Linked DNA regions of Homo sapiens: region 1 is linked to region 2. Evidence: promoter capture Hi-C in human tissues and cell types (Jung and others, 2019). All regions are on one chromosome and are shown on one strand. Each heading gives the region's core, a stretch centred on a gene start or on the middle of the fragment in contact. The rest is flanking DNA. Distances are from core to core; before and after follow the strand shown. Region 1 holds the start of C16orf90 (chromosome 16 open reading frame 90). Region 2 holds the start of PKMYT1 (protein kinase, membrane associated tyrosine/threonine 1).

Evidence for each region. Contacts are between HindIII fragments. The study calls those that stand out against the background at their distance.
Region 1: a contact is called between the fragment with the promoter of C16orf90 here and the fragment with the promoter of PKMYT1 in region 2, in 1 of the 25 tissues and cell types used here (spleen).

The regions. Positions count from the first base shown.
Region 1 is chr16:3,493,468-3,500,511 of GRCh38, reverse strand. It overlaps C16orf90 (chromosome 16 open reading frame 90), which reads left to right and starts at 5,023. Exons shown (of 3, transcript NM_001080524.2): 1 at 5,023-5,136; 2 at 5,635-5,988; 3 at 6,525-7,028. The coding sequence starts at 5,091. The coding sequence ends at 6,673. It also overlaps a transcript of CLUAP1 not described here and the pseudogene RPL18P12. The HindIII fragment of the contact is 9,668 bases long and covers 4,266-7,044 here.
Region 2 is chr16:2,978,281-2,985,689 of GRCh38, reverse strand. It overlaps PKMYT1 (protein kinase, membrane associated tyrosine/threonine 1), which reads left to right and starts at 5,244. Exons shown (of 9, transcript NM_004203.5): 1 at 5,244-5,404; 2 at 5,778-6,042. The coding sequence starts at 6,033. RefSeq lists silencers at 1,768-1,954, 1,909-1,968, 2,209-2,258, 4,911-5,270, 5,281-5,510 and enhancers at 2,379-2,880, 3,925-4,801, 4,802-5,677, 5,678-6,554. The HindIII fragment of the contact is 14,611 bases long and covers 1-7,409 here.

The DNA.
Region 1 (7,044 bases), core at 3,774-6,273, 520 kb before region 2:
TGTAATCCCAGCTACTCGGGAGGCTGAGGCAGAAGAATTACTTGAACCCGGCAGGCAGAGGTTGCAGTGAGCCGAGATCGCGCCACTGCCCTTCGGCCTGGCGACAGAGCGAGACTCTGTCTCAAAAAAAAAAAAAAAAAAAAAATGCACTATACTCAGGAAGCCCGCCTTCCCCCGTCCGAGGCACAGCGCGCTCCTCGTCGGAATCTGGTTGCCGAGCGGAGGACGGGATCACTGTGGGCGCCCAGAGGCAGGCCAGGCCTCGGTCTCGCGCACGCGCAGACGGCTCGGGCTGCACAACAGGCCGGAAAGGGGCCCTGAGCCGCTCGCGCCGCGCGGGTCCCGGCAGCCCTAGCCTCTGCATGGGGGCGCGAGGAGACGGCAGGAAGGGGCGGCCTCCACGTGTGAAATGGGGAGATGCCCCGCCAGGCGTGGCACAGCAGCCGGGTTTTGTAAGGTAGCTTGAGCAGGAACAAGGAAACAGCGTAGTGCACAAAGCGATTGGTTGGCATCAGGTTATTTCAGATGCATTTCTTTGGGTTAAAGCAGAGGGGGCTTCCTTATGCCAGCCTAGGTGGACAGGGCCCCTTTTGTTGGTTGCAGTGAATCTTCTGTGTTTTGGCAGACTGGCCTGTCTCTAAGTTCGCATTGATTACGTGGCACCTTGCACTAGCGATTCCATTCTGGTTTGGTCTGGTCCGTTGGTACCTTGTGCAGGAGCTCGCTCCAAAACAATGGCCTCCCATAAATGTTGCTTCACGTGTTATTAAGAAAAACAAAAGATAAGCCACAGTCTAGAAGAAAATATGCACAAAACACATATCTGATAAAGAGACGTGTATCCAGAATGTATCAAGAACTCTCAACACTCAATAATGAGAAACAGTCTAATTAGAGAATGGAGAAAACATTTTAAAAGCTACTTCACAAAAGAAGATATATGGATGGCTAATATGCAAATGAAGAGATGATCAAGGCTATTATTAGAGAAGTGCATATTAAAACCACAATGAGATATCACTATGAAGTTATTAAACTGGCTAAAATATCAGGTAACACGTTAAAAACCTAAAAATTAAATCTAGATAAAATGGCTAAAACAACAAAAAACTCTTGACAATGCCAAGGGCTTGAAAGGATGTTGATCAACTTGAACTTTTTTTTTTGAGATGGACTCTTGCTCTTGTTGCCCAGGCTGGAGTGCAGTGGCACAATCTCGGCTCACTGAAACCTCCGCCTCCAGGGTTCAAGCGATTTTCCTGCCTCAGCCTCCGGAGGAGCTGGGATTACAGACGCGCGCCACCGCGCCCAGCTAATTTTTGTATTTTGGGTAGAGACGGAGTTTCGCCATGTTGGCGTGAGTCACCGCACGCGGCCTGCATTTCCCTGATGATTAAAGATGTTGAACATCTTTTTACGTGTTTGATGACCATTTGTATATTTCCATTGGAAAAATGTCTATTCATTTTCTTTGCCCATTTCAAAATTGGGTTGAACATCCTTTTGTTTTTGAATTGTAAGTGTTCTTTATATATTCTGCCTATGAGACCCTTATCAGATATATGATTTGCCAATATTTTCTTCCATTTCATAGGTTGTCTTTTCACTTTTTTTTGTTGTTGTTGTTTGTTTGTTTGTTTGTTTGTTTTTTGAGATGGAGTCTCGCTCTGTTACCCAGTCTGGAGTGCCAGTGGTGCGATCTCGGCTCACTGCAAGCTCTGCCTCCTGGGTTTACGCCATTCTCCTGCCTCGGCCTCCCAAGTAGCTGGGACTACAGGCGCCCACCACCACACCCGGCTAATTTTTTTGTATTTTTAGTAGAGACGGGCTTTCACCGTGTTTGCCAGGATGGTCTGGATCTCCCGACCTCATGATCCGCCCGCCTATGTTGGCCAGGCTGGTCACAAACTCTTGACCTCAGGTGATCTGACCACCTGAGTGTCCCAAAGTGCTGGGATTACAGGTGTGAGCCACCATGCCCAGCCGTGTTTCTGATTTCTGAAGATTTGCTTTTCCAAGATTGTTGTGGTTATTTGGGCTCCCTTGTAATTTCACATGAATTTTAGGATTAGCTTTTCCATTTCTGCTTGTGATGCTTAATTTTGTGTGTCAACTTGACTGGGATGCCTGATAGCTGGTAAAACATTATTTTTCAGTGTGCTTGTGTAAGCGTTTCCAGAAGAGATTAGCATTTGAATTGCTAGACTGAGTAAAAAAAAAGAAGATTGCCCTCACCAGTGTGGTGGGCATCATCCAATCTGCTGGGTGCCCAATTATGACAAAAATGCAGAGGAGGGGTGAATTCACACTCTCTTCATGGGCTGGGACATCCTTCTTCCCGTGCCCTTGGACATTGGAGCTCCTGGTTCTTGGACTTCTGGACACCAGGACTTACACCAGCCCTCACCCCCACCCCTACCCAGATTCTCATGCTTTTGAACCCAGACTTAATTACAGCACCAGTTTTCCTGGTTCTCCAGCTTGCAGGCAGCATATTGTGCGACTTCTCAGCCCGGATAATCACATAAGCCAATATCCCTAATAAATCTTCTCTTGGCTGGGCACGGCGGCTCACACCTATCACCCCAGCACTTTGGGAGGTGGAGGCAGGAGGATCACTTGAGCCCAGGAGTTCAAGACTAGCTCTGGGCAACATGGTGAGATCTCCATCAGCAAAAATTTAAAAAATTAAAAATTAAAAAATGAAAATAAATTAAAAAATTAGCCAGGCCTGGTGGTGCACACCTGTAGTCCCAGCTACTTGGGAGGCTAAGGTGGGAGGATTGCCTGAGCCTGGTAAGTTGAGGTTGCAGTGAGCCGTGATCATGTCACTGTACTTCAGCCTGGGCAATGGAGCAAGGCCCTATCTCAGAAAAAATTATATAAGGAGATTTATTTATCCTCTAATAAATATTTTCTCTGTAAATATCTATATACATTCTGCTGACTATATTTCTCTGGAGAAGCCTAATACACTACATGAAGGCCATTTTGATTTTGATAAGAATTGTACTGAGCACTTTGGGGAGTGTTGCTATCTTAACAATATTAAGTCTTCAGTCCATGAACATGTGATGCTTTCCAATTTATTTAAGTCTTTAGATTCTCTCAGCAATGTTTTATAGTATTCAGAGTTGTCTTATACCTCCTTGGTTAAATGTATTCCTATTTTATTCTTTTTATTCTTTGCTAGTATCTAGAAATACAATTAATTTTTGTGTGGTGATTTTATGACTTGAGATTTTTCTGAACTTCATTAGCTCTGAAAAAGCTCTACTAGGTTCAGGATTTTTTTTTTTCAAGTATGAATTATTTAATATTTCCTACATACAAGATCAGGTTGCTGGGCGCGGTGGGTCATGCCTGTAATCCCAGCACTTTGGGAGGCCGAGGTGGGCGGATCACCTGACGTCAGGAGTTTGAGACCAGCCTGGCCAACATGGCGAAAGCCTGTCTCTACTAAAAATACAAAGATCCGTTGGGCGTGGTGGTGGGTGCCTGTAATCCCACCTGCTGGGGAGGCCGAGGCAGGAGAAGCTCTTGAACTCGGGAGGCGGAGGTTGCAGTGAACCGAGATCGCGCCACTGCACTCCAGCCTGGGCGCCAAAGTGAGACTCCATCTTAAAAAAAAAAAAAAAGAAAAGAAAAAAAGAAAAATCAGGTCGTCTGTGACAAGAGAAAATTGAATGTTTTAACTTTTTGTTTTTTTGTCAGCATCCAAAATCTTTTTAATAAGAGGGTTCGTTTTTGTAGCCTCGGCTGGCCCGTAGGCCTCTGGCGCGCTCGAACTTCTGGTCCCTGGAGCGGAAATAGCGTTTGGTGTGGCTGTGTGGGGTTCCCAGGGCCTTGCCGAAATGCCGGTACACCTGTCGGCCCTTGCGAAGACCGGAGAGTAGGACGGGGCCGCCGTCCTTGAGGGAGTCCAGGGCCAGCTGATCGAAAGTCAGGATCTTGGCCCCCACCCTGAGGATGCCGCTGTGGGCCGGCTGGTCACGGGCAGCGCACACACCTTAAGTTTGGGCACCTCCTGAACCCTCGCGTCATCCGTTAAGCGTCCCCACAACCACGGCCGTTTTGTTTTCCCAGCCAGGAAGCTTCATCTTCCGGATCATCCGGGAAACGGACAGAGGTGGCCGGTTGGTGCGACTCATAAACAACCTCTTCAGCACAACCTGGTTGAATGTGGAGTTAGTTCGTCTGGACGGTAACCTGTACAGCTTGACCAACAAACAGCCTCAGTTAGATATCCTGGCTCTTGGGCTCTTTGCGCCGAACCTTTAGGTCCTTCTTGTGGCGGACGTCAGCTCCCATGATGGCGCTTCCTGCTTGGCCAGGTCCGGAAAGATGAATGTTTAACTTTTTTTTTTTTTTGAGACGGAGTCTCGCTCTGCAGCCCAGGCTGGAGTGCAGTGGCGCGATCTGGGCTCACTGCAAGCTTCGCCTCCCGGGTTCACGCCATTCTCCTGCCTCAGCCTCCTGAGTAACTGGGACTACAGGCTCCCGCCACGACGCCCGGCTAATTTTTTTGTATTTTTAGTAGAGACGGGGTTTCACCGTGTTAGCCAGGATGGTCTCGATCTCCTGACCTCATGATCCGCCCACCCCGGCCTCCCACAGACCTCAACTGATCAGCCTGCCTCGGCCTCCCACAGTGCTGGGATTACAGGCATGAGCCACCGCCCCCAGCCCCTTTTCAGCATTTTCAAAGTACCGACCTAGGTCTTCCTAGGTCTGTACTCCTGAACCCTCATTTCCCACCCCAGATGAGGAAGCTGGCCCCAAGAGATCACCTGAGAGAAGGACTCTCCAGTTTGCCAGAGCTGTCTGTTTTATGTGGCCTGACCCCAGCCAGAGGGACCAGGGACTTCCCCCAGGGTTCTGGCCCCTTCCCATGCCTTTCTTTCACCCTGCCCTTGCCTTGGGCACTGTCCTCTCCCAAACTAGGGGTCCAGGAAGGCTGGGAGTCTTCCCCGTGATGTCATAAGAACCAGTTGCCAGGGGAGACCTGCCAATGTACCCCCTAGGCAGGGGAGAGCAGGGCCCTGCTGCACCCAAGTCCTGGTTGCTCCTCCCCACCACACTGGCCCTCCATGGAAGCCTTGGTCTGTGCATTTTCTGAGCTGCACATAAGAGAAGGTGCCGGGCTGTGGGGAGGAGTGGCAGGAAGAGAGATAGGCTTCTGTCCCCACCTGGGCCCAAAGCCGAGGGGTGGCCTCAGGGACATGTATGCTTGGGAGAGGGGAATGGCCACTGGGCCAGGCCATGAGCCCCTGGGCTGGCCACTTTCTCTCAAACCCACTGTGCAATTTCTCTGTGGGGACCAGAATACTCTTCCTAGGGTAGCGGGCAGAACAGGGTAGTAGAAAGGACTTGAGGTCCTGAAAGCACTCTTAGTACCAAGGCCCGAGGCTTCCCAGGCCTCCCTGTTGGTTGGGAGTGGGAAGAGGAGTCGTGTCTTGGGCATGGGCAGGGGAGGCAGTGGACTGAGACTATTTGACACACAGGTAAACTGAGGCCAGGTTGGCTGGGGGTGTAGCCCATCATGTGAGCTGGTCTCAGAGGTATGTGACTGCACCCTCCCCTCATGGCTGCTGTGGGGGGCTGGCCACCACCCTCCCGCTGTCTCCTCTGCAGATGCAGTGAGCCAGGCCCAAGGACGCCCCGGCCACCCTGACGCACCCCCCAACATCTACGAGGGGGGCCTGGGGTCCCCGCAGCCGCAGTGCCCCAGTGCCCAGGGAAGCAAGCCCAAGAACTTCCGGCTGCGCCACCTCCGGGGCCTGGGCCTCTACCTGGAGAGCCACCCGCCACCCACTGGCCAGTGTGAGAGCCACTGGCTGGGCCGGCTTATGGCTGGGGGCTGCCTGCCACAGCCTGAGGGCACAGCCTGGGCCCTGGACCTGCCACAGGGGACTCTGGGCCCACGTAACAGCCTCTGTTCAGCCCTTCTGGAAGCCCGATTGCCCAGGGACAGCCTGGGAAGCAGTGGTGAGCTCTGTCAAGGCAGGACTGGGCACGGGGGAAGACCCTAGGGGATGGTTGGGCTGGGGCCTCAGGCGGGCCCTTCTCCACTCCCAAGCCTCCACAGTGGCACCATGCCCCAGAAGGCCAAGATCTTGATGAATCTGTCCCCATCTCTGCATCACGCACAGCTAAGCGGGGTCTGGAGAATCCACCAGGGACAAAGCGGTGCGAGAAAAAGGGAGGATCTGGGAGGGAGGGCTGGGTGACTGCCCCAGCTCCACACTCGGTGAGGGGCCTTGGAATCTGTCTCCCTTGCTGGGCCTCAGTTTTCTCACTTGTAAAATGAGGGTTCAGGTTAGATGAGGGTCCTTCCAGCTTGAACCATTCTGTTCCCTCAACCTCCTCCCTCCCCTGGGGATTCTGTTAAGGAGGAAGCATTGCCCTCCTCCCTTCTGTTTTCAAGAATATCGGATTCTGGAAACCCCAGGGTGGGCTGCCAGCCTCCCCCCCAGCCTCCCCTTGGGTCCCTCAAGTGACTCCTTTCTCTCCTCTTTCCTCAGCTTCCAGTTCCAGCATGGACCCAGACAAGGGTGCCCTCCCCCAGCCTAGTCCTTCTAGGCTCAGGCCCAAGAGGTCCTGGGGGACCTGGGAAGAGGCCATGTGTCCCTTGTGCAAGAGAACCCGCTCTGGGGCCCTGGAGAGGCCATAGGGATCCCGAGTGCCAGGACTGGGTACAGGAGGGGCAGGATGGCCGAGGAGGCAGCCTGAGCAGGAGGGGCTCGGCCCCCGGCAGTGGCCCTGCCACATGGGGTGGCCCAGGCAGCGGCCCAGCGCCCAGGCCTGGGCCTCGGGAGAATGTGATGGGGAGAGGGAGGAGGAGGAGGTTCCGAGGGAGGGGCAGAAGCAATAGAAGCATGGCCGTGCCCTTGCAGCCTGCTTAGACTCCAGTCAGCCACTTGTACCTGGGAGGCCGGGCTGAGTGCAGAATCAGGCCCCCCCGCCACCGCCTCCCTGAGAGGCCGGGGAGCCCACAGCTCTGATCTCAATAAAAGCCAAGGCCTGCACGTTCTTGTCCATCTG
Region 2 (7,409 bases), core at 3,995-6,494:
AAAATGGCAAGAGACTCCCTGCCAGCTGCTTGACACCAGTGGCACCCGTGAGGGCAGGAATTTGGGGAGGACAGCTGGAGCGGTGGCCAGGCGCCAGCCGGGCGGACAGCTTCTACACTCGCAGCTGTGCTGAGCGTCCTGCAGGCCACTCTGTTTGGGCAGCTCTTCAGCCCAAACCCAAGCATCGGAGCCTCCAGTATACCTTCCTAGGCATCCCAAGGCAACTCACACCAGCAAAGGTGACCTCTACAAACTCCTTCTCCCCACCCATCTGCCAGTTTGTTAAAACGTTATGCAGGCCTGGTGCAGTGGCTCATGCCTGTAATCCCAGCACGTTGGGAGGCCGAGGTGGGGTGATCACCTGAGGCCGGTAGTTCAAGACCAGCCTGACCACATGGAGAAAACCTGTCTCTACTAAAAATACAAAATTAGCCGGGCGTGGTGGCACATGCCTGTAATCCCAGCTACTCTGGAGGCTGAGGCAGGATAATTGCTTGAACCCGGGAGGTGGAGGTTGCGGTGAGCCGAGATCGCACCACTGCACTCCAGCCTGGGCAACAGGAGTGAAACTCCGTCTTAAAACAAAACAAAACAAAACCAAACCTTATGCAATTCCTTTGGTGTAGTGTCAGAAAAATAAAAGCCTTATGCAAGTGTGGCCAGGCACAGTGCTCATGCCTATAATTCCAGTACTTCAGGAGGCCGAGGCAGGAGGATTGTTTGAGCCCAGGAGCTCGAGACCAGCCTGGGCAACATAATGAGACCCCCGTCTCTACAAGAAATTAAAAATTAGCCAGGGTTGGGTGGTGCACCCCCGTGGTTCCAGCTACTTGGGAGGCTGAGGTGGGAGAATCACTTGAGCTTGGGAGGTTGAGGCTGCAGTGAATCGTGATCATACTATTGCCTGGGCAACAGAGTGAGACCCTGTCTCAAAAATAATCAAAACACAGGCTGGGCGCGGTGGCTCACGCCTGTAATCCCAGCACTTTGGGAGGCCGAGGCGGGTGGATCACCAGGTCAAGCGATTGAGACCATCCTGGCCAACGTGGTGAAACTCTGTCTCTACTAAAAATAAAAAAATCAGCTGGGCATAGTGGTGTGCGCCTGTAATCCCAGCTACTCGGGAGGCTGAGGCCGGAGAATCGCTTAACCCGGGAGGTGGAGGTTGCAGTGAGCCGAGATCGCGCCACTGTACTCCAGCCTGGCAACAGAGCAAGGCTCCGTCTGAAAATAAATAAATAAATAAATAAATAAAATAAAAAACCTTATTCAAGTGTGAAACATAGCATGCAAAGATTAGCACACATGAGATGTGAATGTGCCGTGCAGCTATCGTACTTATGAGACAAACCCCTATGCACCCAGCACCTGGGTCAAGAAGTAGAACATAGCCAGTTCCGCAGAAGCACCCATCACAGTCCCCTTCCTCCCATTAGGATAGCCACGTTTGCACTTGTGGTCGTCATTCCCTCGCTTTTTTTCTTTTGAGACGGAGTCTTGCTCTTGTCGCCCAGGCTGGAGTGCAGTCGCGCCATCTCGGCTCACTGCAACCTCCGCCTCCCGGGTTCAAGCGATTCTCCTGCCTCAGCCTCCTGTGTAACTGGGATTACAGGCGCCCGACACCACGCCTGGCTAATTTTTGTGTTTTTAGTAGAATCGGCGTTTCACCATGTTAGCCAGGCTGGTCTCAAACTCCTGACCTCAGGTGATCCGCTCGTCTCGGCCACCCAAAGTGCTAGGATTACAGGCGTGAGCCACCGCGCCCGGCCTCGCCTTTCCTTTTGTGGCCGAAACCGCATGAGTGAGTCTTCCTTGGAGAGTCTGGGCGGAGCCGCGGGTGCTGTGGCGGCGACGGGACACACGGGGGCGCGCGCGGCCCGCGCCTGGTCGCGCGGGTGGGACTCGCGGGAACCGGGTGCCTGGGCGGCGGCTGGGAGGATTCCTCCTGGAAGGAGGTCGGCAAAGCGCTTTGGTCCGGAACCCTGTGGGCCCGTGCCTCGGTCCCTGTGACCCCAAGGTGGTTAGAGGAGTCCGGGCTTCTTTCCTCCTGGGGCCTCTTTTTGGCCCAGACTGCAGCGTTGAAAACTGCAACAGACTGTACAGATGAGGGGGTCTTACTATTTTATTATTATTATTATTATTATTATTATTATTATTATTATTATTAATTTGAGACCGAGTCTCGCTCTGTCGCCCAGGCTGGAGTGCAGTGGCGCCATCTCGGCACACTGCAGCATCCACCTCCTGGGCTCAAGCGATCCTCCCACCTCACCCTCTTGACTAGCTGGGAGCACAGGTACACACCACCATGCCCAGCTAATTTTTGAATGTTTTGTAGAGACAGGGTTTTGCCATATTGCCCAGGCTGGTCTCTAACTTCTGAGCTCAAGTGACCTGCCCGCCTCAGCCTGCCAAATTGCTGGGATTACAGGCGTGACCACCTCGCCCAGCCTGTTATTCTGAAACAATGAGTAAGCCCCTACTGTGTGTTCGGCTCTGTGCTAAGCACTTCACAGGCATTTTCTCATGTGGTGCTCATACTCCCCGAGGAAGGAGGAACTACTATTATTATCACTTTATATTTTTTACAGGGTCTCACTCTGTTGCCCAGGCTCACTGCAGCCTTTTTTTTTTTTTTTTTTTTTGAGACAGAGTCTCGCTCTTGTCACCCAGGTTGGAGTGCAGTGGTGCGATGTGGGCTCACTGCAACCTCTGCCTCCCAGGTTCAAGCAATTCTGCCTCAGCCTCCCGAGTAGCTGGGATTACAAGCGCCTGCCATCACACCCAGCTAATTTTTGTATTTTTAGTAGAGAAGGGGTTTCACCATATTGGCCAGCCTGGTCTCGAACTCCTGAGCTCAAGTGATCCACCTGCCTCAGCCTCCCAAACTGCTGGGGTTACCAGCATGAGCCACTGCACCCGGCCCTCACTGCGGCCTTTAACTCCAGGGATCAAGTGATCCTCCTACTCCAGCCTCCTGAGGAGCTGGGACTACAGGTGTGTACCACTGTGCCTCACTGCTTTATTTCTTCTTTCTTTTCTTTTTTTCTCTCCCTTTCTTTCCTTCCTTCCTTTCCTTTCCTTTCTTTCTTTCTCTTTTTCTTTCCCTTTCTTCCCTTCCTTTTCTTTCTTTTTTCTTTCTTGAGACAGGGCCTTGCTATGTTGCCTAGTCTAGAAAACTATTATTTTTATCCCCATTTTACACACGCAGAAACTGGGGCAGGCAGGATCGCAGCCCTAGTTTCCCTCACACCACGCACTTATCTGCTCCATCTACTTATTTCCATTTACATATATTTATATTACAGCCTTTCCTCACACAGTGAAATTTACATCGGAAGCATGTGTTTCCATGCTTTTTTTTTTTTTTTTTTAATTATCATTGTGAATCAGACTTTAAAAAATGGGCGGTTGGAAGGGGACCTGTTGGGGAGATGGGGCTGGCAGAGGTAGCCCTAGGCAGCTGGGGAGGGGCCTGTGTGTGCCCCAGGCCTCCTGGGGGCCAGTCTGGAGTCATCAACAAGGATCCTGCCTGAGTCACTGGGGCACAGCCGCCAGAGATGCGAAGGACAAGGAAAGGTGCAGGCAGGTGGGCTGCCGCCCCCAGCCAGGATCCCAGCCTCTCCTCCCCCACACTGCTGCTCCATGCACAGAACGTTTACAGAGGGTGCAGGAACTGAATGGGTGGGAAGCTTTGCAGTCCATGACCTGTCAGAGACTTGGGGAGGATGGAGGGTTTGGGGGACTGGTTCTGGAGGCCAGGGCTAGAAGGAGCAGGTAGTCAACAAGTAAACTCACAAACAAAAGATAGAACATCGGACAGAGATCAGGGCAATAGCAAAAATAAGGCGGAAGGAGAGGTGAGAGTGAGAAGGCCAGCGTTTGGGGGAGGGTTGGCCGGAAGCGTACTCCTCCCACCCAGTTAAACAGATAAAGAGCCCCTCGGTGAGGGAAGGAACAATCCCTAGCCCGACTTGCTCCGCGAGGGCCCCTGCTAATCACTTTAGGGGATCATCCCAGCGTCCTCAGCTGTTTTTTTTTTTCCAGGAGAGGAGACTAATCCGAAGCTCAGAAAGGCTCAGTGCATTCCCAAGGTCGTTCAGCCAGGAGAGCGCTGAAGGGATCTGAGCTGAGAGCAAGTCTCAAACTCAGAGAATGGAGGAGCTGCCCCGGAAGTGGCTGCTCGAGGCTGCAGTGAACTATGATCCTGCGGCCAATCGCGGTGGCTCACGCCTGTAATCCCAGCCTTCTGGGAGGCCGAGGCGGGCGGATCGCTTGAGGTCAGAAGTTCGACACTAGCTTGGCCAACATGGTAAAACACCGTCTCTACAAAAAAATGCAAAAATTAGTTGGGTGTGGTGGCGCGCGCCTGTGGTCCCAGCTACTCAGGAGGCTGAGGTGGGAGGAACGCTTGAGCGGGGGAGGCGGAAGTTACAGTGAGTCGAGATCGCCCCACTGCACTCCAGCCTGGACAACAGAATGAGACCCTGTCTAAAAATAAAATACATGAGCCGAGTGCGGTGGCGCGCGCCTGTGATCTCACATACTCGGCAGGCTGAGGTTGGGAGAACCGCCTGAACCTGGGGACTGCACCACTGCATTCCAGCCTTGGTGACAGTGAGACCCTGTCTAAAAAAAAAAAAAAAAGTATCTGAGGCCTGTTGGCAGGGAAGCTGCAGGCAGGCGAGGTCAGGCCAAGCAGAGTCCTGCCTATCTGGAGAGCTTCCTGGAAGAGGCGGCTTTTTCTGGCTCCCGAAGCCGTGCGCTAGGGGTTGGGGGTCGTGCGTCTGGCCTCCCACCGCGACCCTGGTTCAGAACACGGCCGGAGTGAGAAGGGGGGTGCCGGGACCCAGGAGGCCGTAGGGACTTCCTGGTCCTACCCGGAGTAACCCTGGGGCTACGCCTGCTCCGAGCACCGGGATGGCGGTCCCTTTTATGGACCCAAACACTACGCCAGCCCAGCGAGGGCGGTGGGTGTCGGGTGCGAGGCCTGGAGGGCAGTGGGCGTCCCAGGGACTGGGCGGCTGAAGCCCCGCGCAGCGACTCAGAACCAGGCCGCCACCCACGCCCCGGGCCAGCGCGGAGAATCCTGTGCGCCTGCGCAGTGAGCGGCGGGGCGGCTCGGCGGCGCGCACGCAGCACGAGGGGCGGAGCCTCGGAGCCCGGGCACCCCTGACGGGCTGCACTGGGGAGGGGGAGGAGCCTCGAGGCCGGTTTGGAATTTTTGGCGCGAGCAGCTCCGCGCGCGTTCACGGGCCGTTCCCCCTCACGGGAGTCCTCCGCCCGGGCGTCCGGAACAGTCGACGGCAGACTCCGGCCCGCTGAGCCACCCGAGGGGTCCCGTGGCCTCCGCGGACCCGGAATCTGGGCCCTCGCGGACCCGCGCCCCGCCCAGTCGCCCCAGGTGAGCCCAGACCCCGCCGTGAGGGGCCTCGGCGTGGCCACCTCGCCGCTCCCCTCCGCCTCGCCAGGTCTGCGTTACCCCTGCCCCTCAGGCCTCCCCGGCGGCCCGCTCGCGTCCCCTCAGGCCCGCCCCCGCGAGCCCCTGCCTCCCGTCCTCCCCAATTCCTGGTTCCCTTGCCTCGAGCCCCTTCCCAGCGGCGGTCCCGCCCTACTCGCCCCTCCCGGAGACCCCGCCTGCTGTCCATCAACCCCGCGCCGCCGCCCTCCCCGTGACAGTCCTTCCTCCGTGACAGCCCCTGCCCCGGGACAGCCTCTCTTCTTCTGCAACAGCCCCTCTTCCCTCGTGACAGCCCGTCCACTGCTCTGTTCGCCAGGGCTTCCCCACACCCACGGAGTGAAGTCAGCCGCGGCCCTGCCTGGGAGGAACTTACCGTCTACCGGGAAAGGTGGCCAGCAGATGTGTCGGGCCTGGTGAGAGGGTGAGGCGAGACGGCCCGATCGCCCAGGGCCCCGGAAGCTGCGGAGGTCACCCCCGCCTGGCCTTAGCTCAGGGACACCCTGGATTCACGTGGGAGCCCCTGCTCCTGCCTCCCCCGTCCCACCACTGAGGCTGTTGGGCCAGGCCAGTCATGCTAGAACGTAAGTCGTAGGGCAGGGACGGTGGGAGAACTGGGTTAAGATGCACAGGCCCAGGTCCCCGAGTGTGCCAGGGTTGGGCCTGGAGGCTGTGCTTGTGACCAGTGACCTCCAGGATCCCAACACCCTGGCTCCTGACTTGGAGAAACCCTGGGCTGGGACTCTGAGGTAGTTAGAGTCAGAGGAAGAGTCTCCACAAGATGGAGGGCAGCCTGCCAGCCAGGCCCAGGTAGCATCGCTCCCCTCACCCCTGTACTCCCTCAGGTACTGGAGACTGCTCTTTTTAATTTTTTATTTACTATTATGTATATTTTTTTGAGATGGAGTTTTGCTCTTGTCGCCCAGTTGGAGTGCAATGCCGCAATCTCGGCTCACCGCAACTTCCACCTCCTGGGTTCAAGCATTTCTCCTGCCTCAGCCTCTGAGTAGCTGGGACTACAGGCATGCACCAGCACGCCCGGCAAAAATTTGTATCTTTAGTAGAGATGGGGTTTCACCATGTAGGCCAGGCTGGTCTCGAAGTCTTGACCTCAAGTGATCCACCCACCTTGCCTCCCGAAGTGCTGGGATTACAGGCGTGAGCCACCACACCCAGCCGCTCTATTGTTTTTTATAATACTTTGGTGCACCAGCCTCACCAACATGGTGAAACCACATCTCTACTAAAAATATAAAAATTATTCTAGTGTGTTGGCACACGCCTGTAATCCCAGCTACTCAGGAGGCTGAGGCAAGAGAATTACTTGAACCTGGGAGTCGGAGGCTGCAGTGGGCCGAGATCATACCACTGCACTCCAGCCTGGGCAACAGAGTGAGACCCTGTCTCAAAAACAAACAAACAAACAATACCTTGGGGCATAAAGTGTTCCACGGTCCAATCCAATTAAATTTTTTTTTTTTTTTGAGACAGAGTCTCGCTCTGTTGCCCAGGCTGGAGTGCAGTGGCATGATCTTGGCTCACTGTAATCTCTGCCTCCCAGGTTCAAGCAATTCCCCTGCCTCAGCCTCCCGAGTAGCTGGGACTACAGGCATGCACCACCACACCCAGCTAATTTTTGTATTTTTAGTAGAGATGGGGTTTCACCATGTTGGCCAGGCTGGACTCGAACTCCTCACCTCAGGTGATTTACTCACCTCAGCCTCCTAAAATGCTGGGATTACAGGCATGAGCCACTGTGCCTGGCCAGATCCAATTAATTTTGAGCTCCTTTGACAGGGTGGCTTTTGAGGTCAGTGAGGTTTGTTCTGACAGCAGGCAGGCTCTTCCTAGCTAGCTCTTTCTCCACTTCTCTGTGGTAAACTAGCTGGCCTATGGTTCAGCTGGTTGCCCTAATGCGGGTACCAGTCTCTTCTTAATGGCGCACCACCAA